Regions from separate parts of the Homo sapiens genome. Here all the other regions are linked to region 3. Evidence: promoter capture Hi-C in human tissues and cell types (Jung and others, 2019). All regions are on one chromosome and are shown on one strand. The core of a region is centred on a gene start or on the middle of the fragment in contact, and the rest is flanking DNA. Distances in the headings are between cores, read along the strand shown.

Evidence for each region. Contacts are between HindIII fragments. The study calls those that stand out against the background at their distance.
Region 1: a contact is called between a fragment that was not itself captured here and the fragment with the promoter of SOX2 in region 3, in 2 of the 25 tissues and cell types used here (aorta and dorsolateral prefrontal cortex).
Region 2: a fragment that was not itself captured here is called in contact with the fragment with the promoter of SOX2 in region 3 in 1 of the 25 tissues and cell types used here (liver).
Region 4: a contact is called between a fragment that was not itself captured here and the fragment with the promoter of SOX2 in region 3, in 2 of the 25 tissues and cell types used here (dorsolateral prefrontal cortex and lymphoblastoid cells).
Region 5: a fragment that was not itself captured here is called in contact with the fragment with the promoter of SOX2 in region 3 in 1 of the 25 tissues and cell types used here (lymphoblastoid cells).
Region 6: a fragment that was not itself captured here is called in contact with the fragment with the promoter of SOX2 in region 3 in 3 of the 25 tissues and cell types used here (dorsolateral prefrontal cortex, mesendoderm cells and neural progenitor cells).
Region 7: a contact is called between a fragment that was not itself captured here and the fragment with the promoter of SOX2 in region 3, in 2 of the 25 tissues and cell types used here (lymphoblastoid cells and thymus).

The regions. Positions count from the first base shown.
Region 1 is chr3:182,103,992-182,107,354 of GRCh38, forward strand. No RefSeq gene overlaps it. Among named protein-coding and RNA genes, the nearest start is that of LINC01206, 150 kb to the left of the region's middle. The HindIII fragment of the contact is 7,214 bases long and covers 1-3,363 here.
Region 2 is chr3:182,082,247-182,086,092 of GRCh38, forward strand. No RefSeq gene overlaps it. Among named protein-coding and RNA genes, the nearest start is that of LINC01206, 130 kb to the left of the region's middle. The HindIII fragment of the contact is 4,458 bases long and covers 224-3,846 here.
Region 3 is chr3:181,710,588-181,714,451 of GRCh38, forward strand. It overlaps SOX2 (SRY-box transcription factor 2), which reads left to right and starts at 1,338. Exons shown (of 1, transcript NM_003106.4): 1 at 1,338-3,849. The coding sequence starts at 1,774. The coding sequence ends at 2,727. All of the region lies in intron 6 of SOX2-OT (SOX2 overlapping transcript), which reads left to right. RefSeq lists enhancers at 1-620, 621-1,473, 1,474-2,327, 2,328-3,179, a promoter at 566-1,599 and a silencer at 1,179-1,238. The HindIII fragment of the contact is 19,833 bases long and covers 1-3,864 here.
Region 4 is chr3:182,216,365-182,220,038 of GRCh38, forward strand. No RefSeq gene overlaps it. Among named protein-coding and RNA genes, the nearest start is that of LINC01206, 270 kb to the left of the region's middle. The HindIII fragment of the contact is 5,463 bases long and covers 1-3,674 here.
Region 5 is chr3:182,042,883-182,046,430 of GRCh38, forward strand. No RefSeq gene overlaps it. Among named protein-coding and RNA genes, the nearest start is that of LINC01206, 92 kb to the left of the region's middle. The HindIII fragment of the contact is 3,356 bases long and covers 1-3,261 here.
Region 6 is chr3:182,200,074-182,203,668 of GRCh38, forward strand. No RefSeq gene overlaps it. Among named protein-coding and RNA genes, the nearest start is that of LINC01206, 250 kb to the left of the region's middle. The HindIII fragment of the contact is 3,991 bases long and covers 1-3,551 here.
Region 7 is chr3:182,022,058-182,025,738 of GRCh38, forward strand. It overlaps LOC105374242 (a long non-coding RNA gene), which reads right to left. Exons shown (of 3, transcript XR_924755.2): 3 at 3,673-3,681. Among named protein-coding and RNA genes, the nearest start is that of LINC01206, 72 kb to the left of the region's middle. The HindIII fragment of the contact is 3,587 bases long and covers 538-3,681 here.

The sequences.
Region 1 (3,363 bases), core at 650-3,149, 390 kb after region 3:
GAGAGGTTAAGTGACTTGTCCAAGCTCATAAAGCCTGGTAAATGTCTGAACAAGGGTTCATATTCAGGTCTGTTTGACTCCCAAGCCTATTTGGCATTTGAACTGTTTTTTGATATATTTCCTTGCTTTCATTAATCATTGAAGGCTCTCTTTGGACATGAACCATCAATAATAATGATGATGCTAGTAATAAATTAAAATACGTATTGGCTGGTTACTATGTGATGTGCCAGGCACTTTACATGTCCTGGGCACTTTACATGTAACAATCCATTTAATCCTTATAACTGTATGTGGTAGGTGCTGTTATTGTCTTCATTTTATAGATGAGAAAATTGAGGTACAGAGAGGTTAACTAACTTGTCCACCCCAGTAAGTGGCCAAGCTAAAATTCAAACCTAGACAGTCAAGTGATTAAATTATTTAGAAGATAAATAAACTATTGGAAAGCAACAAGGGACTTCCTGACTTTTCGTTAATAGAATGCATAATGTAAGGTTTCCCTAATAGGTACAATTTACAAAGAGATGAATATACAGTATGCCTTTATGTCCCAAAGCCTTGACAAAATTGTTTCTATTTGGAGAATATTTTGTCTCTCATGAAGTGAAGTTCAAAAATAAGCCACATCTATGCGCATATGTATTCATTTAACTCTGTAAAAATTACTTTCCTGAAGATCATATAAATTCTTAGTCACATAAATGGTACATTGACAAAATGTCTCCTTTTATTTTGGTCTCAACCCAGGAAGCTATACAAATAAGGGTTTCTTATTTTTCTTATTAATTTTCCAAAAGAGTTTAAGATTTGGAGGCTTGTTGAAACAAATCTTTTTAGCAAGATTAATTTTAAAGTTAGACATTATGAGTATCAAATTAAGCTGTCAGCCTGTGAAATGATACAGAGAAAGATGTGTTACAACAATCCCCTCCTCTCCAACCTCTGTAGAGATGGGTAAGTCTGAACAGGAAAACCAGAGGCCAGGAATCACATTTTAGTAATTCTTTTCTAGTTATGTCAGATTTCTAGCATGCTATTAGAGACACATGTGTCATCTTCACCATCAACCAACATATCATTGCTGTTTCAAACTGTTACTAGAGCTGTTGACACAGAATATTGTGTCTGTCGACAGCTCCAATTAGCTGGCGTGTCTGACTGGTGACAGCACGGTCTACTTTTGTTTACAGGGATGGTGGGAGCTGTATCTCCGTCTCCCAACCTCCAGTGGCAGACAGATGGATAGAGCTATATAATCATCAGTGGAAGTGTGTGATATTCTGTCTTCACAAACCATCGTGCAAAGCAGAACCAACGGCCTTTTGTCTGCTTTTAGAAATGTCTGCAAGAATCCCTCCCACCTGTCAAGTTATGGGGATGAATATGTATAAAATGCATCATGTATGTGTACCTGTAGAAAACACTGGATTGGGATGTGCAGAGGAAATAAAGCAAACAGTTTTTTAAAAAGCCAATGTGATATTTAATTTGTATTGTGGCAACATTAAATATATGTTTGCCTCAGCACTGCTTCTAAAAACATCTTTTATTGAAATTTTTTTAAAAAAATCAACCAATTAATGTTTTATTATTATTTACCAGTAAAATTACTAGTAAAAATTATTAAATTGCATTTTGTAATTTTTGACATTCTCTACTGTGTATGGCCTTACTTTGACATATAATGGTTACATTGGCTTGGAATTCTCTATGATATGTCATCTTCTCTACTAATTTTCATCCTTTCATCAATGGAGGCACATGTCAGAGGTTGATGTTCACAGGCAAAAAAACCAAAACAAAACAAAACAAAAAAACACCTTAGTAAATGTATCTGAGGATGTGTGCAGTTCAGAGTACATGGCTTGTAACTCCATTATTTCCAACAGAAAGAAGTGAAATGTGATACAAGTAATTGAGGATGATACAATTATATGGATGGTCTAGAATTATTTTTAAAATTAAACTGTTCTTAAACTTCTTTAGTTTTTTCTTATTAGTTTTATTATGGCATGAGTCAAGACTAACCATTATATGGCTGGAAACCACTAACTCCATTCATTTCCTGTTCTCCGTTAACTGCGACTCATCCCTCAGGTTTCAGCTCAAATGCCATTTCCTGAGAAAACATTCCCAGAATCCTCGCCATACACACTTACAACACTATTCCTTTTATTTATGATATTTATTGCAATGTGGAATGTCCATTTGTGTAATTATTTGACTAACATTTGCCTCTTCACTGAGTCCTATGAGAGCAGAGAACGGGTTGGTGTGGTTCACCATTGAATCTCTGGTGCCCAGTATCATGCCTGGTACCCAGCTAGGACTCAATACAGATGTGTTAGATGAGTGCTGTTCAGGTGGATTCATAATAGAACTTCCCATATAAAAGAAATACTACTCTTCTGGTTTCCTAAGACTGGAGCTTCTTGTGAGACAGTGTTTGTGTGGTGTGTGTGTGTGTGTGTGTGTGTGTGTGTGTGTGTGTGTATGTGTGTGTGTGTCTAATTACACCTCCCAAATTAGCACAGAACTAGATGTAGGTAGGTGATAGTGGGGGCCAGGGGCTATGTTCCAGGTAGAGGGAGTCACATGTATGAGGCTATATGTGGGCTTCCAAGAGCCCAGCTCTACACATGGCAGGATTGAAGGGGAGGCCTAAGAAGAGTAAGACCAAGAAAGAGGCCATCAAACAACAGACCATCTACAGCTGTTGGAGGTCAACCTGAAACTCTGTCTTGGAAGACCTTGAGGAAGATTTCTTTTTACCTTCTATTAATGGATAGTAAATATATTAATATTGGTCTTATTAATACTGTGTTCCAGCAAACATGGGAATAAGACTCACTCTTCTGAAGCCTGGTTTGATAATCGTATCCCATATATCAAGTGGATAGGTAGCACGAAGGAGAAACAAACATTTGTTGTTTCAGGTGACTGAAATTTTGGAGTTATTTGTCATGGCGGCATAGCCTAGTCTGTCATGACTGATATGGAAATCTTTGCATCATACTGAGTTATTTACATATTTCTACATATCAGAGTATACAGTGAACAAAAACCATGTTTTCATTTTTACTGTTCTACATTCAACAAATTGGCTGCCCTTTAGTGAGAGCTTGAAACCCTTTTCTGAATAAATGTTTAGAATTTGAAAATCAGTATTTACTGGACTAATGGTTCATTGAGAGCAGAGGCCATGTCATTTACATTTTTATACCTCCTATCAAGACCTACACACTTAGCAAATAGGAAGCATTAACTAAGTGTTAGTTGCATGCATGGATCACCTTATAAACATTTCTTTTCCTGGCTGAAGCCTGCCAGTTAGTTTCCTTTTTTTTTGCGTAGGTTTCA
Region 2 (3,846 bases), core at 1,203-3,702, 370 kb after region 3:
TACCATTTCCCTATGCTTTGCAAGCACTTTTTTTCTTTTCTTTTCTTTTCTTTTTTTTTTAGTTTTTTAGAGGCAGGGTCTTGCTCTGTCACCCAGGCTAGAGCATCATCATAGCTCACTGCAGCTTCGAACTCCTGGGCTCAAGGAAGCCTCCCACCTTGGCCTCCCAAAGGACTGGGATTACAGGTGTGAGCCACTGTGCTCAGCCCCTTTGCAAGTTCTTCTTAATTCATTTTAATTGTGTCTGTTGCTTATGGTTATCTGCCCCCCTCCCCCACCCTTCTCCATAACTCAGTCAGTGAAAAAGGTAAAAGAAGTCAGAAATTTTTCTTTGAGTCGCTAGAGCTCTATCCACTAGTGACTGCTAAAGTGGGCTCTGTGTACCCCAGGGATATTCACAGTGATCAAGTAGTGGTTCTTTCATTTTTAGTTTATTTTAACTTTATTCTTTATATCTATCTTTCATGTGTATTTTCTTTTGCATGTAATATATTAGTATTATATCAGGCAATCAATAGACAAAAAGGTTTTAAGATGCTAGGACAAGACAACACAACATGATGGAAAAAGAATAGGTAACAGTGATGAGGAGATTCAGGAGATAATGAGATAAGTTTGTTCGGTCCAAGATAAATAATCCTTGCTCTCTTGAAACCCAGGAGTAACTTACATTGTACTAATAATCACAAAAAGAGGGAGAAAAAGGCAGCAGGCAGGGACAGTCTTTCTTGCTCTGATTCTGGTTAGTTTTCTATAGACTTTGCTGTTTTCCTCACAGAGGTTGGGAAGACAGAGATGATTATTATTATAAGCTAAAAAATAAATCTTCAGCAATTAGGTTTGGCCATGAAAGTTACATTATATCTATAAATATAATTTTTTTCAAAGATCCTCAGATGTCTTTGGATATACATAAAGTGCTTTGCTTAAGAATTTCCAATCTAAAAGCACTCACAGACAGGAACCAAGCCATGCTGCAGATGTGGGGATTTCAACCCTGTTGGCATTAATGGCTCTGTGAAAGCAGCATACTTTATCTTAGTCGATGATTCACAATGTTTGTGCATAGCTTTGAGATGTTTTAGCAGAACTATTTACCCCACAATGTCCAACTAAATGCAACAGCAATGGGATTGTGGAAAGTGTTCATAACGTGAGGTTTGAAAATAAAGTAAAGCTAGCCAAACAATTGGAAGTGGAAAGGAAGTGTTGGTTGTTGCTTGGACATGGAATGAATTTTGTCCAAATGAATCATTCTACAGGACAAAGAGTGAATTACCTAAAACACAGTACCTATATGAATTACAATAATCATAGAGGAAATAATTATGTGAACGCAAAATCTTTCGAGGGGGTGCCTGGGTGGTAGGTTTCAAGTCTTTCCAAACAATAAGCAATTGTTAACTGTGTAACCCCAATACACTTATATTTATTGATTATATACAACGTACATATACAACTATCACTAGCTAATATCTCAGGGCAAAATTCACATTTGAGGCAAGACAATTCATTAATAACAGTGGATATAAATTGATTGGAGGGGGACACTGTCTTGTCAGATATGATAAGATCGTTAATTTTTTCTCTGTAATGTGATGAACAAAGAGCTTATATTAGGAGTGGGAGAAGTGTCATCTCTGCCATTTTCTTGTTGTTTATATGTGCTTGCATAATTAATATTCTCTTTGATTCTCACAGCATCTTTGCAGAAAAAATTAAAAAGCCAGGTGCTCGTTTTGAAAGCGTGAGCATAAACTAGAAAATATAGTCTGGAAATGTGCTGAACTGGGGACACACTCCAGTAAGTTGTAGTGTGACAAAGGAGGAAAGAGAGGCCACCACTGTTGATCCCTTCACACTCTGGGGGATCACACATGCCCTCTTCCCTCAGAGCATGCGGGCCAAGTAAGAATAACTGTCAACTCCTATATTACACACTGGTAAATATTAATTCTTTTTGACTTTTAAGATAAACATTTTTGTTAATAAAAGTGCTGGTAGGCCAGGAGTGGTGGCTCATGCCTGTAATCCCAGCACTTTGGGAGGCTGAGGCAGACGGATCTCCTGAGGTCAGGAGTTCGAGACCAGCCTGACCAACATGGAGAAACCCTGTTTCTACTAAAAATACAAAATTAGCTGGGTGTGGTGGTACATGCCTGTAATCCCAGCTACTCAGGAGGCTGAGGCAGGAGACTCCCTTGAACCTGGGAGGTGGAGGTTGCAGTGAGCAGAGATCGTGCCATTGCATTCCAGCCTGGACAACGAGAGCAAACTCTGTCTCAAAAAAAAAAAAAAAAAAAAAAAAAGCTAGTAATTTCTCTCATTTTGGAAACCCTTGATGTAGAAGATCAGCTCAATTTCAGGCATCTATTAGCTTGATATTCATTCTGAAGAGGGGTAAGTTTGTCCAAGTAATTAAAGGCTAAAATGGTGATAAAACCTTTAGTAAGCTTTATTTCAGAGGTTCAAAACTTGTTTGAATTTGGGCAACATGGAAGAATCCAGATAATGAATGAATAATAAAGCCACTATGGGATTCCCTGTAACATAAACTGGGGAGAGTGACATCTGCCTTAATATATTTTGATATATTTAGGTAAAAATATTTAACACAGAATTAAGGAAGAGAAGCATGTGACTGGTTTTAAAGTGTGAAGGACAGATTTAATCTCCTACTTGGTGGATAGTTATTATAACTTCTATGTCTAGTGGTATGGCCAGCTAGAAGCACTGGCTGACTCTCTTGCTAAAGAAAACTGGATAAGTACCATATAACATACATAAAGAATCTTTGTAAAGGCACTGATGAGCTGGCAAGAAGATGAGGATTCCTGACAGGTCAAATACTGAGTGAAAGTAGGAACCCAGAGTGGCAAGCTGAGCACACTGAAGCATGTTCACACACTGCCCTGAAGCTGGTTGAACGTCAGTGACTTTGAGTGTCAGTTTTCATACTGCTGACAGGAGGTAAAACATAGGTCCTACCTAAGGAGGGGAATTTAATCAGGGGACCTCCGACATAAAGCTAAAGCCCCAAAAGGTCATAGCCTCCAAGTAAGGGTGAAAAAGAAAAACCTGTCTTCCAAGGGGAAATAAGAAAAACGGCCTCTTTCAAGTCTTGCTGGTGGGAAGAGAATAAAAATATTTCCTGAGTATTCTCAGTCATCAGTGAGTCCTCACCTAGGTTTGTGGCCCCAAAACATGCTATCTGGGTGTGCTGAAAATCTAAAGCCAATAATTAGGTTTAAAGTGGTCCTAGGTGAGCTAGGCTCATGTGTCTAGGACAGAAGACACAAATCTGGAGAAACTCGCTTAAAACTCAGACCCAAATAATTCCCATGTATATTTAACTTCCAATAACCATGAGCTCATAATCTAAAAATCAACTAATACCTGGAAAACAATACACCATGAACATGAGCCAACAGAGACAGATCTGCAAAGGCTTTCCAATATTTAATTGGAAATATTTTTATTCCCGTAATTGTATGTCACATACTGTCAAATAAATACGTTTTATGTATTTAAAGGAAAAAAGTAAGAGAATATAATTAGGAGTAAGGTGCAAGAAACTAAAAATTTTTCAAACAAATTTAAAAAAATTAGAAATAGTAATTGAAATGACAAATTCAATGGATGGCATTGATAGCAGATTAGACACCGGTGAAGACAGAAATTACGTAGCATGCAACACACAGAGAAATTTTAAAAAATGAATAGTTAAGAAACATGTAGGTAGAGTTTCAGAAGAAAAGAGAGAGAATGCATCGGAGAAAGAACATATGAAGAAATGATGGCTGAACATTTTCCAGAAAATGAGAAACACACTTCTTAGATATGGGA
Region 3 (3,864 bases), core at 88-2,587:
GCGGGCAAGATTCCTGAGCCCCTACCCCCGCCCCCATCTCATCCTCCTCTAACCCGGGCCTTGCTGGGCTCCCCCTTCCCCAGTCCCGGCCGCCTTCTCCCAGTGTGCGCTGCCTGCACCTGTGCCTGGAGAGCATCGACCCCGCCTCCCAGGCCTTGAGCCCCTTTGCGGCGCAGCCCCAGCCTTGCGCGGCCTGGGCTTTGCGGCCACCACAATGGAAATCTACGGGGAAAATGCCAGGGCTGGTTCTGCTGGAGTCCTGGGAACTCTGCGTGGGAGGGAGTTTGTGACTGCGGCCCAAAAGCCACCTCCATACAGTGCCGTGGGATGCCAGGAAGTTGAAATCACCCTCCCCCATCGCCTGCACTTTTGAGCGCCCTTCCGTCTGTGTCTTTCCCCAGCCCCCATTTGAAAGCCGCACGACCGAAACCCTTCTTACGGGGAGGCATGGGATGGGAATGGGGAGTGGGGGCAGACAGTAGAAGCATCCCCTTTGCTACGGTTGAATGAAGACAGTCTAGTGGGAGATGTGGCTGGGGCTAAGAGGAAGAGCTGCAGTTTCCTGGGCCAAAGAGCTGAGTTGGACAGGGAGATGGCAGCTTACCAAGGCCTGCTGGTTCTCAGCTCTAGAGTCTGCCTTATGGTCCGAGCAGGATTTATTTTTAAGAACAGAGCAAGTTACGTGGAAGCAAGGAAGGTTTTGAGGACAGAGGTTTGGGTCTCCTAACTTCTAGTCGGGACTGTGAGAAGGGCGTGAGAGAGTGTTGGCACCTGTAAGGTAAGAGAGGAGAGCGGAAGAGCGCAGTACGGGAGCGGCACCAGAGGGGCTGGAGTTGGGGGGGAGTGCTGTGGATGAGCGGGAGAACAATGACACACCAACTCCTGCACTGGCTGTTTCCAGAAATACGAGTTGGACAGCCGCCCTGAGCCACCCACTGTGCCCTGCCCCACCCCCGCACCTTAGCTGCTTCCCGCGTCCCATCCTCATTTAAGTACCCTGCACCAAAAAGTAAATCAATATTAAGTTTAAAGAAAAAAAAACCCACGTAGTCTTAGTGCTGTTTACCCACTTCCTTCGAAAAGGCGTGTGGTGTGACCTGTTGCTGCGAGAGGGGATACAAAGGTTTCTCAGTGGCTGGCAGGCTGGCTCTGGGAGCCTCCTCCCCCTCCTCGCCTGCCCCCTCCTCCCCCGGCCTCCCCCGCGCGGCCGGCGGCGCGGGAGGCCCCGCCCCCTTTCATGCAAAACCCGGCAGCGAGGCTGGGCTCGAGTGGAGGAGCCGCCGCGCGCTGATTGGTCGCTAGAAACCCATTTATTCCCTGACAGCCCCCGTCACATGGATGGTTGTCTATTAACTTGTTCAAAAAAGTATCAGGAGTTGTCAAGGCAGAGAAGAGAGTGTTTGCAAAAGGGGGAAAGTAGTTTGCTGCCTCTTTAAGACTAGGACTGAGAGAAAGAAGAGGAGAGAGAAAGAAAGGGAGAGAAGTTTGAGCCCCAGGCTTAAGCCTTTCCAAAAAATAATAATAACAATCATCGGCGGCGGCAGGATCGGCCAGAGGAGGAGGGAAGCGCTTTTTTTGATCCTGATTCCAGTTTGCCTCTCTCTTTTTTTCCCCCAAATTATTCTTCGCCTGATTTTCCTCGCGGAGCCCTGCGCTCCCGACACCCCCGCCCGCCTCCCCTCCTCCTCTCCCCCCGCCCGCGGGCCCCCCAAAGTCCCGGCCGGGCCGAGGGTCGGCGGCCGCCGGCGGGCCGGGCCCGCGCACAGCGCCCGCATGTACAACATGATGGAGACGGAGCTGAAGCCGCCGGGCCCGCAGCAAACTTCGGGGGGCGGCGGCGGCAACTCCACCGCGGCGGCGGCCGGCGGCAACCAGAAAAACAGCCCGGACCGCGTCAAGCGGCCCATGAATGCCTTCATGGTGTGGTCCCGCGGGCAGCGGCGCAAGATGGCCCAGGAGAACCCCAAGATGCACAACTCGGAGATCAGCAAGCGCCTGGGCGCCGAGTGGAAACTTTTGTCGGAGACGGAGAAGCGGCCGTTCATCGACGAGGCTAAGCGGCTGCGAGCGCTGCACATGAAGGAGCACCCGGATTATAAATACCGGCCCCGGCGGAAAACCAAGACGCTCATGAAGAAGGATAAGTACACGCTGCCCGGCGGGCTGCTGGCCCCCGGCGGCAATAGCATGGCGAGCGGGGTCGGGGTGGGCGCCGGCCTGGGCGCGGGCGTGAACCAGCGCATGGACAGTTACGCGCACATGAACGGCTGGAGCAACGGCAGCTACAGCATGATGCAGGACCAGCTGGGCTACCCGCAGCACCCGGGCCTCAATGCGCACGGCGCAGCGCAGATGCAGCCCATGCACCGCTACGACGTGAGCGCCCTGCAGTACAACTCCATGACCAGCTCGCAGACCTACATGAACGGCTCGCCCACCTACAGCATGTCCTACTCGCAGCAGGGCACCCCTGGCATGGCTCTTGGCTCCATGGGTTCGGTGGTCAAGTCCGAGGCCAGCTCCAGCCCCCCTGTGGTTACCTCTTCCTCCCACTCCAGGGCGCCCTGCCAGGCCGGGGACCTCCGGGACATGATCAGCATGTATCTCCCCGGCGCCGAGGTGCCGGAACCCGCCGCCCCCAGCAGACTTCACATGTCCCAGCACTACCAGAGCGGCCCGGTGCCCGGCACGGCCATTAACGGCACACTGCCCCTCTCACACATGTGAGGGCCGGACAGCGAACTGGAGGGGGGAGAAATTTTCAAAGAAAAACGAGGGAAATGGGAGGGGTGCAAAAGAGGAGAGTAAGAAACAGCATGGAGAAAACCCGGTACGCTCAAAAAGAAAAAGGAAAAAAAAAAATCCCATCACCCACAGCAAATGACAGCTGCAAAAGAGAACACCAATCCCATCCACACTCACGCAAAAACCGCGATGCCGACAAGAAAACTTTTATGAGAGAGATCCTGGACTTCTTTTTGGGGGACTATTTTTGTACAGAGAAAACCTGGGGAGGGTGGGGAGGGCGGGGGAATGGACCTTGTATAGATCTGGAGGAAAGAAAGCTACGAAAAACTTTTTAAAAGTTCTAGTGGTACGGTAGGAGCTTTGCAGGAAGTTTGCAAAAGTCTTTACCAATAATATTTAGAGCTAGTCTCCAAGCGACGAAAAAAATGTTTTAATATTTGCAAGCAACTTTTGTACAGTATTTATCGAGATAAACATGGCAATCAAAATGTCCATTGTTTATAAGCTGAGAATTTGCCAATATTTTTCAAGGAGAGGCTTCTTGCTGAATTTTGATTCTGCAGCTGAAATTTAGGACAGTTGCAAACGTGAAAAGAAGAAAATTATTCAAATTTGGACATTTTAATTGTTTAAAAATTGTACAAAAGGAAAAAATTAGAATAAGTACTGGCGAACCATCTCTGTGGTCTTGTTTAAAAAGGGCAAAAGTTTTAGACTGTACTAAATTTTATAACTTACTGTTAAAAGCAAAAATGGCCATGCAGGTTGACACCGTTGGTAATTTATAATAGCTTTTGTTCGATCCCAACTTTCCATTTTGTTCAGATAAAAAAAACCATGAAATTACTGTGTTTGAAATATTTTCTTATGGTTTGTAATATTTCTGTAAATTTATTGTGATATTTTAAGGTTTTCCCCCCTTTATTTTCCGTAGTTGTATTTTAAAAGATTCGGCTCTGTATTATTTGAATCAGTCTGCCGAGAATCCATGTATATATTTGAACTAATATCATCCTTATAACAGGTACATTTTCAACTTAAGTTTTTACTCCATTATGCACAGTTTGAGATAAATAAATTTTTGAAATATGGACACTGAAATTATTCTTGAGTCTT
Region 4 (3,674 bases), core at 811-3,310, 510 kb after region 3:
GAGTGTGAGTGTGTGAAGGAGAAACTGTCAAACACTTACAAAACCATCAGATTTTTCACTCACATAAGAACTCACTTGCTAGCATGAGAACAGTATGGGGGAAACCACTCCCATGATCCAATCACCTCCCTCCCACGACCTGTGGGGATTACAGGTTCCTCCCTTGAGATGAGATGTGGGTGGGGACACAGAGCCAAACCATATCAATCATGATTTACTGTATATCATACCCCATATATGTCATATCTAACAACTACAACCCTAATTTGCAGAGTTATTGTGAGAATTAAATGAAATGTATGTAAAATCAGCTATCTGTAGTTATCTCATACAAGGACTCAATAAATGTTCTTAAAATAAACATAACCAAATCAAGCATAGTCCCTTCTTGTCTGGAGGGTATGTGAGGAGAAAGGTTCTGCCCTATCAACACATTTATCTGTAACAACGGGCAGAGCTCAATAAATTGCCATAATATACTGAGGCTGTGGCTCCATGAAGACAAACTTACAAGCAGAGTGGCCGTGCATGGTGAACTTCTGTCCTTGTCCTCAGGGATCCACCAGCTGGGGGTCCTTGCAAGTCGCAGTGTTAACATTTAATGTGCTCTGGCACCAAAGATAAAGCAAACATGAAAAGTTTTTCCAGTGCTACCTAGGTTTTCACTGATTGCTTTAGAAATCATCCACATATTAAAAATGAAAAACAAAACACAGCAAGTCTAAAATAGGGTTAGTTCCTTCTCCCCTAAAGCATTTTTCCACATTCTCTTTGTCTCATGGAAATGAAGATTCAAAGGAAAGTTTCAGAAGTGATACATGCCCATTTTTTTCCCTAAATTTAGATTTGAACCTCAATGAATACTAATGGAGAGAGTGAGCCAATATAAAATAGTGTTTTTCAAAGACTGATAGAGTACCCTTCTCAGAATCAATTGACGTCTTTGTTAAAAATGTAGATTCCAGACTAGTTATCTTGACCCTCTGGGGAGGAGGCCCTGGAATCCCCACGTTTAACAGGCTTCCTGGAGGACTGACTCTCACACAAAGATACTGGAGAAACTCTGATGAATGAGGATGAAATTTTCTGAACTTATTTTGCCTGCAAACAACACCAGCTAATTTTTAAAACAAAGCAATAACAGGTTGAATTAAAATTGACAAATGAGAAGACGGAGTACCTAAAAACATTTCTGATTGAAATTCAGTTGTCCTTTGATATCTGTTTGGGACTGGTTTCAGAAATCCCCTGTGCATAGCAAAATTTGAGGTTGCTCAACTCTCTCATACGAAATGGTGTAGTATTTGCATATCACCTATGTACAACCTTCTGCACACTTTAAATCATCTCTAGATTACTTATAGTATCTATACAATATAAATGCAAATGTAAATAGTTGTTATACTGTTTTTAATGTTGTATTCCTATTTTTATTTAAAAAAATATTTTTATCTGCAGGATCCGCAGATGCAGAACCTGAGGATACAAAACCATGAGTATAAAGGGACAACTGTAGTAGCAAACTCCAATTTGCAAACAATCATTTTACCAAGTTTGATCCTAGGGCTAGTCTAAGCTTACCAATGTGTTAGGGACCATCTAATAATTTAGAAAGAAAAAAGTGTGTGTGTGCGTGTGTGTGTGCATGTATCACCATCAAGTAGACCAAAATGTTAAATAACCGCAAAACAATAGGGTCACAGAATCATGAATTACATCTCTTTGATGCATAAAAGTGCCAAAATAATCTCAATACTCAGGAAGACTCACTGTATATTAACCAATATTGTGTGCCCACCCTGCTGGACACTGCCCTAGCCCCTAACGTACAAAGATGAATCAAACATAGTTCATCTCTCCAGCTCACTAGTGCCGTGATTCTTAAACAGTACAGGCTTCCAGAGCCCTTTGAGAGTCTGATGAAACTTAAAAGGTTTTACCTCGAAAAAATGCAACAACACTTGATTTTGAATATGGTTTCAGGGGACTGGTGGAGACTTCACTTAAGAATCTCTCATCAAGAACAGGCACAGAGTACGAATTGAGGAGGCTCTGAATTCCGGAAGGTTGGTGGTGTTCCCTTCCCACAGATGTTTCAAAATAAAATTTAACTGTTTTAAAGACATAAAAATGAAGTGTTCTACATTAAAATTGCATCTTTCGAGGTCTTCTAATTGCACATTTCTGCTTTTGTTTGTTTGTTTTTTGTGTTGATGGTTTTAGTAGTTTGTTTTGTTTAACGCCTCTGCTTTGCCAGAGCCCAAAGTGTGTATTTAATTTTCCTGTGGATAATTTAGCAATAAGCTGGAGGGAAGCATTGGTCTTCACACATATTTATTACATTACAATATAGGATGCTACAAGCTCTCAGAACGATCTGGGAGTACAGAGCAGAGGGCATGGGAAGAAAGTTTCATCTCAACACAGTTATCCAAATATAAGTTCTGAGCTCAAATGGAATGTTCTATTAGTGGTGCTAAGGGAAGGAAATGACTCTCAGTTAACAGGCAGTATCCCCAGGGTGCCCTCAACAATCCCTTTGGGCTAACCAGTTAGAAAGGGCATATGTGAGGCTGGTATGGAGAACAAAAAGGGAAAGGCATTTGGGTAGCATCAGATGTTCTGTCCTGTTTTCCAACAAAAGATACCATTGAATGCCTACTAATGGTGAGGATAGGGGCAAGGTAATGTGTGAGCCAACATGAAGCTGTGGGCAAACAGAGGACAGCAATGGGGAAAGATGAATCAAGTGAGAGAAAAATCCTGCCACACAATAAAGGAATGGAAAGGGAAGTGGATAAGGCAAGGACAGAGAAAGTGGCCACACTTGGAGGACTGTGCTTTGCAATTTACCCAAATGTTGCTAACAGAACAAAGAGGCTCCCAGAGCAAAGACCCAAGTGACCTGGGTTCCCATTCAAAAAAGATTTCCATTCTTATTGTTCAAGTTATTTACCTCATAAGACATTTGTTTTTAACTCTCTCACACACACTGACCCATGTCTTCTCAATCACCATCTGCTTTCACCCAAACATCCAGAGAAGAGTTGACTGTTTATTTATACTCTGCCTGTTTCCAAAATGGATTTAAGGCAGTGGAGCCAAGAGGTAAGTCAAATTTCAATGTTAAAAATTCATCACTCTAAGATTTTTTCGTATCTTTAGCTAGACAATACCCTATCATTAGAATGTTATGTTAGGGCTTCCAACACTGTTTATATTCAGGTGCTTCTTTCTGCTTATGTAATAGAGAAAAGAGATCTCTTGTCCTCAACTCTATGCCAGTTGCTTTTAAATATTTCAAGGCAGGGTATCAGGAACCATATTTTCAGATGGAGAGTCAGCATGCATGTGAAGTTCATGGTGATAATAACTACCATTTCAAGTGTACCTGCCATTTTAACATAGAACCATATTGAGTTCTCACAACAATCTTTTAAGGAATTTATTGCTAAAATGTCTTCATTTTATTTTATTTTATTTTATTTTATTTTATTTAGTTCACATTCTATAGATGAGGAAACTGAGGACCAAAAAGGGATTTATTGACTTGCCTGAGGCACATTGCTAATAGGTAACAGGTTCCAAAGGCAGGCCTCGCTGAATTCAAAGCCCTGTGTTTTGCTTGAGAGTGCTTTTCCTTTCTGAAAATAGGGAGATGTTGGCAAAGGTGT
Region 5 (3,548 bases), core at 334-2,833, 330 kb after region 3:
TATGGCTGCATAGTATTCCATGGTATATATGTGCCACATTTTCTTTATCCAGTCTATCATTGATGGGCATTTGGGATGGTTCCAAGTCTTTGCTATTGTGAATAGTGCTGCAATAAACACACATGCGCATGTGTCTTTATAGTAGAATGATTTATAACCCTTTGGGTATATACCCAGTAATGGGATCGCTGGGTCAAATGGTGTTTCTAGTTCTAGATCCTTGAGGAATCGCCACACTGTGTTCCACAATGGTTGAACTAATTTACGCTTCCACCAACAGTGTAAAAGTGTTCCTATTTCTCCACATCCTCCCCAGCATCTGTTGTTTCCTGACTTTTTAATGATCACCATTCTAACTGGCGTGAGATGGTATCTCGTTACAGTTTTGATTTGCATTTCTCTAATGACCAGTGATGATGAGCTTTTTTTCATGTTTGTTGGCCACATAAATGTCTTCTTTTGAGAAGTGTCTGTTCATATCCTCTGGACACTTTTTGATGGGGTTATTTGTTTTTTTCTTGTAAATTTCTTTAAGTTCCTTGTAGATTCTGAATATTAGCAATTTGTCAGATGGACAGATCGCAAACATTTTCTCCCATTCTGTAGGTTGCCTGCTCACTCTGATGATAGTTTCTTTTATACTGTGCAGAAGCTCTTTAGTTTAATTAGATTCCATTTGTCAATACTGGATTTTGTTGCCATTGCTTTTGGTGTTTTGGTCATGAAGTCTTTGCCCATGCCTGTGTCCTGAATGGTATTGCCTAGGTTTTCTTCTAGGGTTTTTATGGTTTTAGGTCTTACGTTTAAATCTTTAATCCATCTTGAGTTAATTTTTGTATAAGGTGTAAGGAAGGGATCCAGTTTCAGTTTTCTGCATATGGCTAGCCAGTTTTCCACATACCATTTATTAAATAGGGAATCCTTTCCCCGTTGCTTGTTTTTGTCAGGTTTGTCAAAGATCAGATGGTTGTAGATGTGTGGTATTATTTCTGAGGCCTCTGTTCTGTTCCATTGGTCTATATATCTGTTTTGGTACCAGTACCATGCTGTTTTGGTTACTGTAGCATTGTAATACCATTTGAAGTCAGGTAGTGTGATGTCTCCAGCTTTGTTCTTTTTGCTTAGGATTGTCTTGGCTATATGGGCTGTTTTTTCTTTCCATATGAAATTTAAAGTAGTTTTTTTCTAGTTCTGTGAAGAAAGTCAATGGTAGCTTGATGGGAATAGCATTGAATCTATATATGACTTCGGGCAGCATGGCCATTTTCATGATGTTTGTTCTTCCTATCCATGAGCATGGAATGTTTTTCCATTTGTTTATGTCCTCTCTTATTTCCTTGAGTGGTGGTTTGTAGCTCTCCTTGAAGAGGTCCTTCACATTTCTTGTAATTTGTATTCCTAGGTATTTTATTCTCTTTGTAGCAATTGTGAATGGGAGTTTGCTCATGATTTAGCTCTCTGTTTGTCTATTATTGGTGTATAGAAATGTTTGTGATTTTTGCACATTGATTTTGTATCCTGAGACTTTGCTGAAGTTGCTTATCAGCTTCAGGAGTTTTTGGGCTGAGATGATGGGGCTTTCTAAATATACAATCATGTCATCTGCAAACAGAGATAATTTTACTTCCTCTCTTCCTATTTGAATACTTTTTATTTCTTTCTCTTGCCTGAATTGCCCTGGCCAGAACTTCCAAAACTATGTTGAATAGGAGTGGTGAGAGAGGGCATCCTTGTCTTCTGCTGGTTTTCAAAGGGTATGTTTCCAGCTTTTGCCCATTCAGTATGATGTTGGGCCAATGAATATTTAAGGATATTAATTTACTTCCTCTAATAGTCTTTAAGAAATTCAAAAAATAAACATGTGGAACAAAGAAATAAAATGTCAAACCTTAAGCTTCAGCTCTTACTGATGAGGACTGTGTTTTGGCATTGACCGTATCATTACCTACCTAGTTATGAGGTCATACTTCTGCATAGTTCATTAGAATTTATCTTTAATTTTATAGCAAAGCACAACTGCAAAGCCAACGTGTTTTGGTCAACATTTATTGCATGGGCATTTTTTTTTTCAAGGGCATATATTAAAGAAAACTAAAGGGACAGAGTCTCTCCAAAGTTCTTTGGATTAAGAGTCTTAATGATACTTTAAAATATTTCATTCAGGGTATCATTTTGGGAACTTTCTCTAGCATTCTAATGATTCACAAATTATATGTAATACCATTTCATTTTGAGACAATTAATAGACTTTAAAATTTTTTCTCAATTTTTCTTTCCTTACTTATACATATGCCACTTTGTTTTTAAAAAGGATTTAAGGCAGCCTCTTTTATTAGAACATGCCTTCTCTATATTGCAATATAGTCCTCAAAGCTGAGGAACATATCTGGAGTGGGATATAGGAAAGCACAAATTTAAATTAATTCTCACTAGAATGCTTAATATTCATACCTAAGAGATACCACGGTATAGTGAAAAGCATATCAAATTTTTAGTCAAAAATCTGATTTTCATTCTCTGGCACTTACTTGATGGTGCAATTTTGACAAATCTTTTGGCTTCAGTATTCCCACCTATAAGCTGGAAATAATTTCTTCATCATTGACTTACTATAAGGATTAAATGATTAATGCTCATGAAAGAGTGTCTGGCATCTGGTAGGCACTACACACAATTTATTTATCTTTTTTGGACAGTAAAAATCCCTACAAAAGGGCCATTTTATATTTTTATCTAAAAATAGTGCTTGCATCAGTTTTACTTCTGTAAATAGTTCATTCATGAATAATTCCTACAACTATAATGTGGTTGTAGCTTTCTCATGCCATAATATTTATATTAAAAGCTAATTTTTTTTTTTTGAGACAGGGTCACCCAGGCTGGAGTGCAGTGGTGCAGTCATGGCTCACTGCAGCCTTGACCTCCTGGGCTCAAGCAATCTTCCCACCTTCTGAGTAGCTGGGACCACAAGTGCACATCACCATGCCTGGCTAATTTTTGCATTTTTTTGGTAGAGACAGAGTCCCACTATGTTGCCCAGGCTGGTCTCGGATTCCTGGGCTGAAGTAATCTTCCTGCCTTGGTAACCCAAAGTACTGGGATTACAGTCATGAGCCAATGCACCCAACCGCTAATTTTCTTTTAAAGAATTGAATTTTAAGGGAAAAAAAAGGCTTGCCCTTGATTATTTTTCAGTTGAGAAATCAGTGGTGTGAAGGAGGTATCCTATGGCTTCATTTTAAACACAATCTTTCAGAGTGATGAATGAGGGTATATTTTACGACTTGAGTTTGCTTAACAATTTAAACTTTTACAACCTTTAATTTATGTGTCCCTGAATTCTCTATTTTCAGGCTTCAGCTACTACTTCAATGAATAAGGCATCAGTCCCTTAGACAAATGACAAGGAAATCCTCATATAATCTTAAAAAGAGAGAGAAAGGAATGAGGAAGTGCCTAAGCCTAACAGGAATAAGTCTTTTTCAGAATCCAAGTCCAAATAAATATTTGAATGAGAATGGTGTCTTCATATGTGTAGTGGAAAATAG
Region 6 (3,595 bases), core at 306-2,805, 490 kb after region 3:
GCAAAGCCAGCATGTCTCCTAGTAAAATAGCCACACTAAGTTAAGGATAATGACAATATGTTTAAGCTTTGATATCATTAATAGCAAGCATAAAAACAAAGTGAACTTAGAGCTAGATCCTATTATAAACTGATTAGTCAGGATTTTCATAAAACATGAAGCATACTCAATTGTTCTTGTTAAAATACTATTAGTTGTATTTTTGAAGGCGAAATATAAATAATTATAAGCAAAATATTCTAATTTATGTAAAATAAAATTTGTTTTATATTTATCAGATTCTTTTGAAATCCCTGTTTTTGTGCACATTTTATAATGTATATAATATAGTGGTAGTGTAGAAAATATATATAATAAATCAATGGATATGCATATTTTGTGGATACATGGTCCAAATTGTGAAACTGTCGGGGTGTATGATCAAAGAAGTTTGGCAACCACTGGTTTCAAGGACCGGATCTGAAAATATGTATAAAGTCCCAGGAATAGCACTTGTCACCAGTGGTTGTCAATCTAACGCACTAAGGAATTTCTACTGAGGTGACTGTCAGTGAGAACTAAGAGATATTTTTAAATTCACTTCAGTTTATACCAAGTCTTTATGAACAACCTCATTCTTGGTAGGATATTTATATCACATCTGAGGGCACCAGAGGAGTAGCCAGTGATCCACGGGCTAACTCCACTTTTCACCAGTACAGAGAGAACGGAAGGAGGCATGGTAACTTGATGGACTTGAGGCTGGTTGATTTCTGACTCATCCAGATAACTTATCCAGAGAAGTGACGATGATTTCATTTCTAGTAACGAAAGTGACAAGTGATATAAAATAAAAATATAATGTAACAATGCTTAGATAAGCCCAATCCGTGTCTAACTCACAGAAATTTGGATTTTGGCAATGAAAGACTTTAAGTAAATATAGCGATCGGCTTATATATTTATATAGCAAATTTTTTTTCTCAGATGAATTAAAAATATCATTTATTGATCATACATCTTCTCAGGTCAAGTAATAAAAGTTTTTTAAAAAAAGCAATCATAGTTGTTTCGCCTTCCATTATTAGATGGTTTCAATACAGGATTAGAGAATTTAGCATAATTCTTCCCCAGCTTTGCCGCAGAGCCCCTGCATTCAAGGTATTGTTACACTGAGTGAGAAAGACTGTTGTGAGAAGGAGGGAGAAGGGGAAATTCACAGCTAGAGAATATTCAGGACCCACATTTCGACTCCTCAAGTGTTATCTCATTAAATGTTTTGTATCTGTTAGGCATTCATATTTGTAACCTGTTAAGTAAATTAGCAACCTTGCTTCTTTCTTCCCTATTCCCTCCTTATTTTCTTCTTCAACATAGGGACATTTAAAAGAAAATCAATAAATGAACAAACACAAAGAAAAATACTTGTTTGGAAAATAATTTTGACCCTAACTCTTATTCTTGAGGGATTAAATGATATAAGAGCGAGGGAAGAACTGGACAAATGTGTCTCTCATCTTTTCTCACTTTCCGCCTTTCTTGGACTCTCCTCTCCATCTACTGGAATGTTAAAGAGAGGAAGTTCTTTGGCCTATACATAGTTGGCTCATTCAAATTCCATATGCATTCAGCTGTGCAACTGGGAGAGGCCCTCTGTTTCCTTGGAGCGTTGGGGAAGCCAACATAATTTGATCAGTGAAATTATCGAAGGTGATATTTAAAACAAACAAAAAGCAGAAAGGCTGGGACCTAGAACAAAACAGTGGTTGAGAGATTTCAAGGAATTTCTTCTGACAGGTTTTTGAGGAATGTGTTTTCAAAAATCATAATTCACCCGTCGTTTCTAAACGGAGCACAGGGAAACAGCAACCCCTCTCACCGTCCAAATGCCTGTGCTGCCGTGTGACTAAACACAGCCTCTGCCACTTTTCCAGTTCTGATTTTCTAGCTGTGTGAGAACATCCAGCCATTTAGGGGGTGTCACTCAGGCTTATCCTTTTAATCGGAGCCCTTAGAAGAAATGCCAGTTTGTTTTTGGAGACAGTTAATCTGACGGAAGTAAATTCAAGTTTTGGCAAAGATCTGTGGTAAGATAGAGTGAAAAGCTGCCAAACAGTATTATAAGAAGAAGAAGAAAAGGTACGACCTCCCCAAGTCAAATGCCAGCACACCTACACCAGTTTCAATCAAGCCGTAGAAAAATAAGATATTTTTAGATGTATTAAGCCTTAGTGCTTCTTTGCCCTGAGGGCTGTTTTATTGCCACAGAAAGAGCCTGTAATCACTTTTCCATGAGGTTTTTATAATTTAATATGAAATGAGCTTCTAGAAAAACTACACTTCAAAACAAATCTGAACAGTTATTCCTCCACCTCACCCCACTGACCACAGACGCCAACCATTTTCTCTCACTTTGCTTCATCTCAGAGCCCTTTCCCGCAGCTCTTCAGACAGCTGTCCAGTTCTGCAGGCTTCAGATCAATGAATGCACCTCCTAGTTTGGGTTGCCTATGCCCATCATACTGGTTGAGTTATTGTTACACTGCTGAGCTGATGGCTAAACTGAGGCTCCAAAAGAACTTTTGGCATCTTGGCAGCAGAGCTGAGCGTCAAACCAAAACCTCCATTGTCAGAGTTACCTGTGGATGGGATCTAGGTGATGCTCTGGCCTAATACCCCCCTCTTATAAACAAGGAGACTGGAATTCAGGGTGGCTGTGGTGGACCCAACATCATGCAAGTCGTTAAGTGTTAAGTAGAGAGTATGGGTTAGAGCCTGGGTTTAGCCCATGGGTTTTTCCGTTTCACCTCTCTGGACTTTTTATTCATACCAGAAAAATAGGAGTGCTCGTTCAAGGAATATAAAGTGCTTCTTTTTCCTTCTTCTGCCTCTTCATCCACGGACAGGTCACAGGAGTCCTTCTCATGCCACACTGTGGTTTGTGAGTTTTCATTCCCTGGAGTGCCAAAGAGAATGCTGCCATGAGCATCCCTTTACCGAATTCACTCTGGTCATGGGGCAGAGGGGAGGGAGAGGGCAAGGAAGTTCCAAATAACACTCCCTGCAGCAAAGGAGGAGGAGTGGGGAGGATAGGCGATTGGATTCCTTTAATCCCATGTTACAACTGAAGTCACCAAATGGAGTCAAATATGCTCACAACAGCAATCCCTGTTTGCCAGGAACTATAATTTGAGCCATATGAAACTACCCACATTCAACCATTTTTGACCTACAAAAACAACGAGTGCATATAATTCGACCTAAATGGTATTAAGCAGCCAACTACATGCCAGGAACTCTGTCAAATGTCCATCAGTAACTCAATCGTTCAAATCACCAGTGAGTTCAGGGCGGGCGCAGTGGCTCACACCTATAATCCCAGCACTTTGGGAGGCCGAGACAGACGGATCACGAAATCAGGAGATCGAGACCATCCTGGCTAACACAGTGAAACCCCATCTCTACTAAAAATACAAAAAAATTTAGCCAGGTGTGGTGGCGGGTATCTGTAGTTCCAGCTACTTGGGAGGCTGTGGCAGGAGAATGGCGTAAACCTGGGAGGCGGGGCTTGCAGTGAGCTGAGATTGCGCCACTGCACTCCAGCCTGGGCTACAGA
Region 7 (3,681 bases), core at 1,081-3,580, 310 kb after region 3:
GCAGTGGCGCGATTATGGCTCACTGCAGCATCGACCTCTCCAGCTCAGATGATCCTCCCACATCAGCCTCCTGAATATCTGGGACTACAGTCATGTGCAACCATGCCCAGCTAATTTTTCTTTTTTCTTTTTTTGTATTTTGTGTAGACATAGGGTTTCACCATGTTGCACAGGCTGGTCTCAAACTCCTGGGCTGAAGAGATCTTCCCACCTCAACCTCCCAAGTGCTAGGATTACGGGCTTGAGCCACCACACCCGGCCCTTATCACGGTTAAAGCCCTCAGATTTCACTCTCTCAGGTTCAGACAAACTCTCAACTCCAAAGCAAGTAAAGTTGTTACACACACATCTTCCAGATTGGCTCAGGTGTGACCAGAGGGAGTGTAATCCAGGGCCAAGCTTTGGCATTCTCAGTAAAACTTGAAACCACTGAAATTCAAACATATTACCTTGAGCCAACTTTGACTTTCTGGCTGATGTAATAATAACACTTTAAAAATATCACAAGACAGGACATACAGAACATGAGAAGCTACTGCTTACTTGTTGCATCGTTTTGCCTTTAATGAAGGTCTGTGGGATGACTCTGGGGGGACTGGAAATTGCTTCCAGGAGAACTGACTCAACTTATCACTAGCTTTTCTAAAAAAGAAGCCAGAGCCTTAGTGTTTAAAAGCTTGTAAGTCTCAGCAAGCCCCAAACCAAGCCTCTAGTTAAAAAAAAAAAAAAAATCCCCCTGGTTCAATGCTTTAATAAACATCATTGTTAACAGAAAAAAATGTTGCTATTATGGAAGATATTGTAACTGATAACTTCTCTATTTGGCTGTATTTGGAAAATAATGTCTTGAAACTCAGACAAGATCTTCAACTTTGCCTTTCTGATATTTTTTCATTTGTACCTTGAGATATATTAGCCATACAGCTCAAACAAATTCAGTAAAATTTATACTGCAAAAATCTGACACTTTGAAAATTTAGAGGGATTTTTTTTTCAAAGTAGGAAATACAGCAAATCCAATTATTTATGGTTGCAACTGGAACTATTCCATTTACTCTGGGTTTAACAATTATTTCCTTGAGAAGGCAATAGGGATTGCCAAAGGATAAGGGGAATAAATGGGGATATGATTTTACTTTTGTAACTATGATCATTAAAACCATATACATACATATATCTACATCATATATTTTTCCACACGTTATTACATATTGAAAACTAAGACTTAGGAGAAATGCAGAGTAGAAAACATAATTGACAGAACTGAACACCTTTCATCAAGAAGAACAGTGCATTTTTCTGGCCCTGCAACAAATGGTCTGAGCAAGTTGTCGAAGCCCTGTTGTAGACTACATTTTTTTTCCCATCCATGTTCCTTATTTCCAGAATGAGATGTTATGATAATTACTGGGACAAGGTTAGCAAATGAATCTAGAGCTCTGTGGTAGAGGGTGGCACTGGAAATCAAAGTATGATTCTGTTTTGGAATTTTGACATTCTAAGATTTATCTAACTTCTCTGACTAAAGCTTCCTATACAGACATAAATACCAGACCCTAGTGCCTGTAAAAATTCCATTGCTGGTTACTGCTCTGTGGTCGTTAGCTGGAGACCTTTGATGTTTTCTATCTACAAAGTTTCTAAACTTTCTGAGAAATAAATAAAGCATTCATTATTTTACCCTTTACATTTAGCGCTTTAATTTTCTAATTCCACCTTCCCCTTCCCCCATCTTTCCCACTTTGCAGATCTCACAGGTGTCTGGTCAGACCCGTCAGGTGGGTCTCTGTTTGCCTGTCATTTGGGAAGCTGATGGTCTTACCTGGGCATGGCTGATTGCACAGAGCAGAACAGGGGTTAGTTTGAATTGCAGGTGTGAGCAATCAGTGTAGATCAGCACTAATCCATCAGCTATTAGAACAGCCAAGCTGCAGCAGACCCAGCAGAGAGAGCCAAATGCTGAGTGTGAGTGTGTGTCTGTGTGGATAGTCAATGGTTTCCAGTGCTGAGGGATTTTGCATTTGCAGAACGTGGTCTCCATGACTCTTATAATGACACTTCTTCATTGAGGCCTCACCCTGTTCATGCTGTATGAGAAACCATGGTGATCGGAGACAATAAAGAAACTGATCACATCTTCAGGTGGCTTATAACCCAGAAGGGACACAATGATATATAACACAAGGGGTAACATCTCAGGCTATAGAATTCTGGGTTCAGATAACCATTCTGTTATTTATCGTCTGTTTGATCTTGGGTAAGTTTCTTGTTTTCACTAACTCTCATTTTCTCATCTACAAAATAGCGATAGTACCTATTTCAATGAGTTGTCTCTGGCAAATAGTATGCACTAAGTACATGCTAGTTGATGTTAATTGTACTATTATTATTAGAGAGCAGTGCATGTTAAGGGATATGGAGTAAGAAGAGGAAGATACTCCTCCTGCTCTGGGAGGCCAAGGAAGATTTCGGGGGGGCGGAGTGGGATGTGAAGAACTTGAACCTTGAAGATTCACACATGATCAGAAGGAAGTGGCATAAACAAAGACTGTTCTGGGGCCAGCAAAGAGTTTATTTGGGTTGATTTGACAGTTTGGAGATAAAGGTCTATGGGGCCCAGTTTGTCAAGGACTATGCTCTCTCTGTAAGGTTTTTGTCCTTTCAAAGCAAATTCTGTGATATGAGAGGCCAGGCATCCATTTATCAAAAGATTCCCTTGCAAATATTGTCACTGTGATCCACCTGTCAAGCAAAAAGCCAGGGCACATAAGAAGGCGCACTTTTCTCTTTTGTCAGTAAGGTTGAGTGGCTCAATATGCATTCCTCGAAAAGTATATTAGAAGAACTTTCTATGTCTGGGAGCATTTACTTTTGATTAATTTTAATACCGCAAACCTCAAAATAGGAGGAGGTTGCCCTTGGGATGCTCTTGTGCCTTTAAGCTTCATATCAAAATATGGAACATAGCCTGTGATTTCCATGAAGCTGAAGGCAGCTTAAGGCTGAGATACTCAGAAAGGTGACTTGTTGGCAGAATTGATCACATTGTCAGGTAGATGGAGCAATATATGAAGTAAAAATCATTTGTCATTTATTAGTGGGGAGACTTTGGAGCAAGTCACCTCTTCTTCCTATTACCCAGTGGCTGCATTTGTAAAATTAGGGTGTCACACTGATCATCAGTAAAAAATCAAATATTTCTAAGTCTTTTTCTTAGGCAGCAAAAGCCCTTTAAGTCAATCAACCCAATGCAGAATCCCAATATATAAAGGAAATAAAAGCAGGGTGGAGGATCCTGCTGAGGCCTCAGAGTACTCTGCCTTTTGCCCTACCCTGAGAGTGGGGCAGAGATGGACAACTGGGCCTCTGTGGGTCTGGTGTCCAAGCTGATGAACTTCAGGACTGCTGAGATTCCTCATATTTCAGACATGCTACAATCCTGTAACAGTGTAAATTACCATGACACAGAGGGCTTGGAGGTTTCAATTTTTCCATTAACTTGATTGAAAAGTTTTAGAAAATAAAGTCATCTTCCATGGGCCTCTCTGTTAAAAATTTGCTTAATATTTATTTATACAATGGTTTTTCCCAGACATATTTCACTTGAATATACTAGAGCTCAAACACCAAGTGCCCTTTGAAGAAGGGCATTGAAATACAACAGATTGTATGTATGTTGGA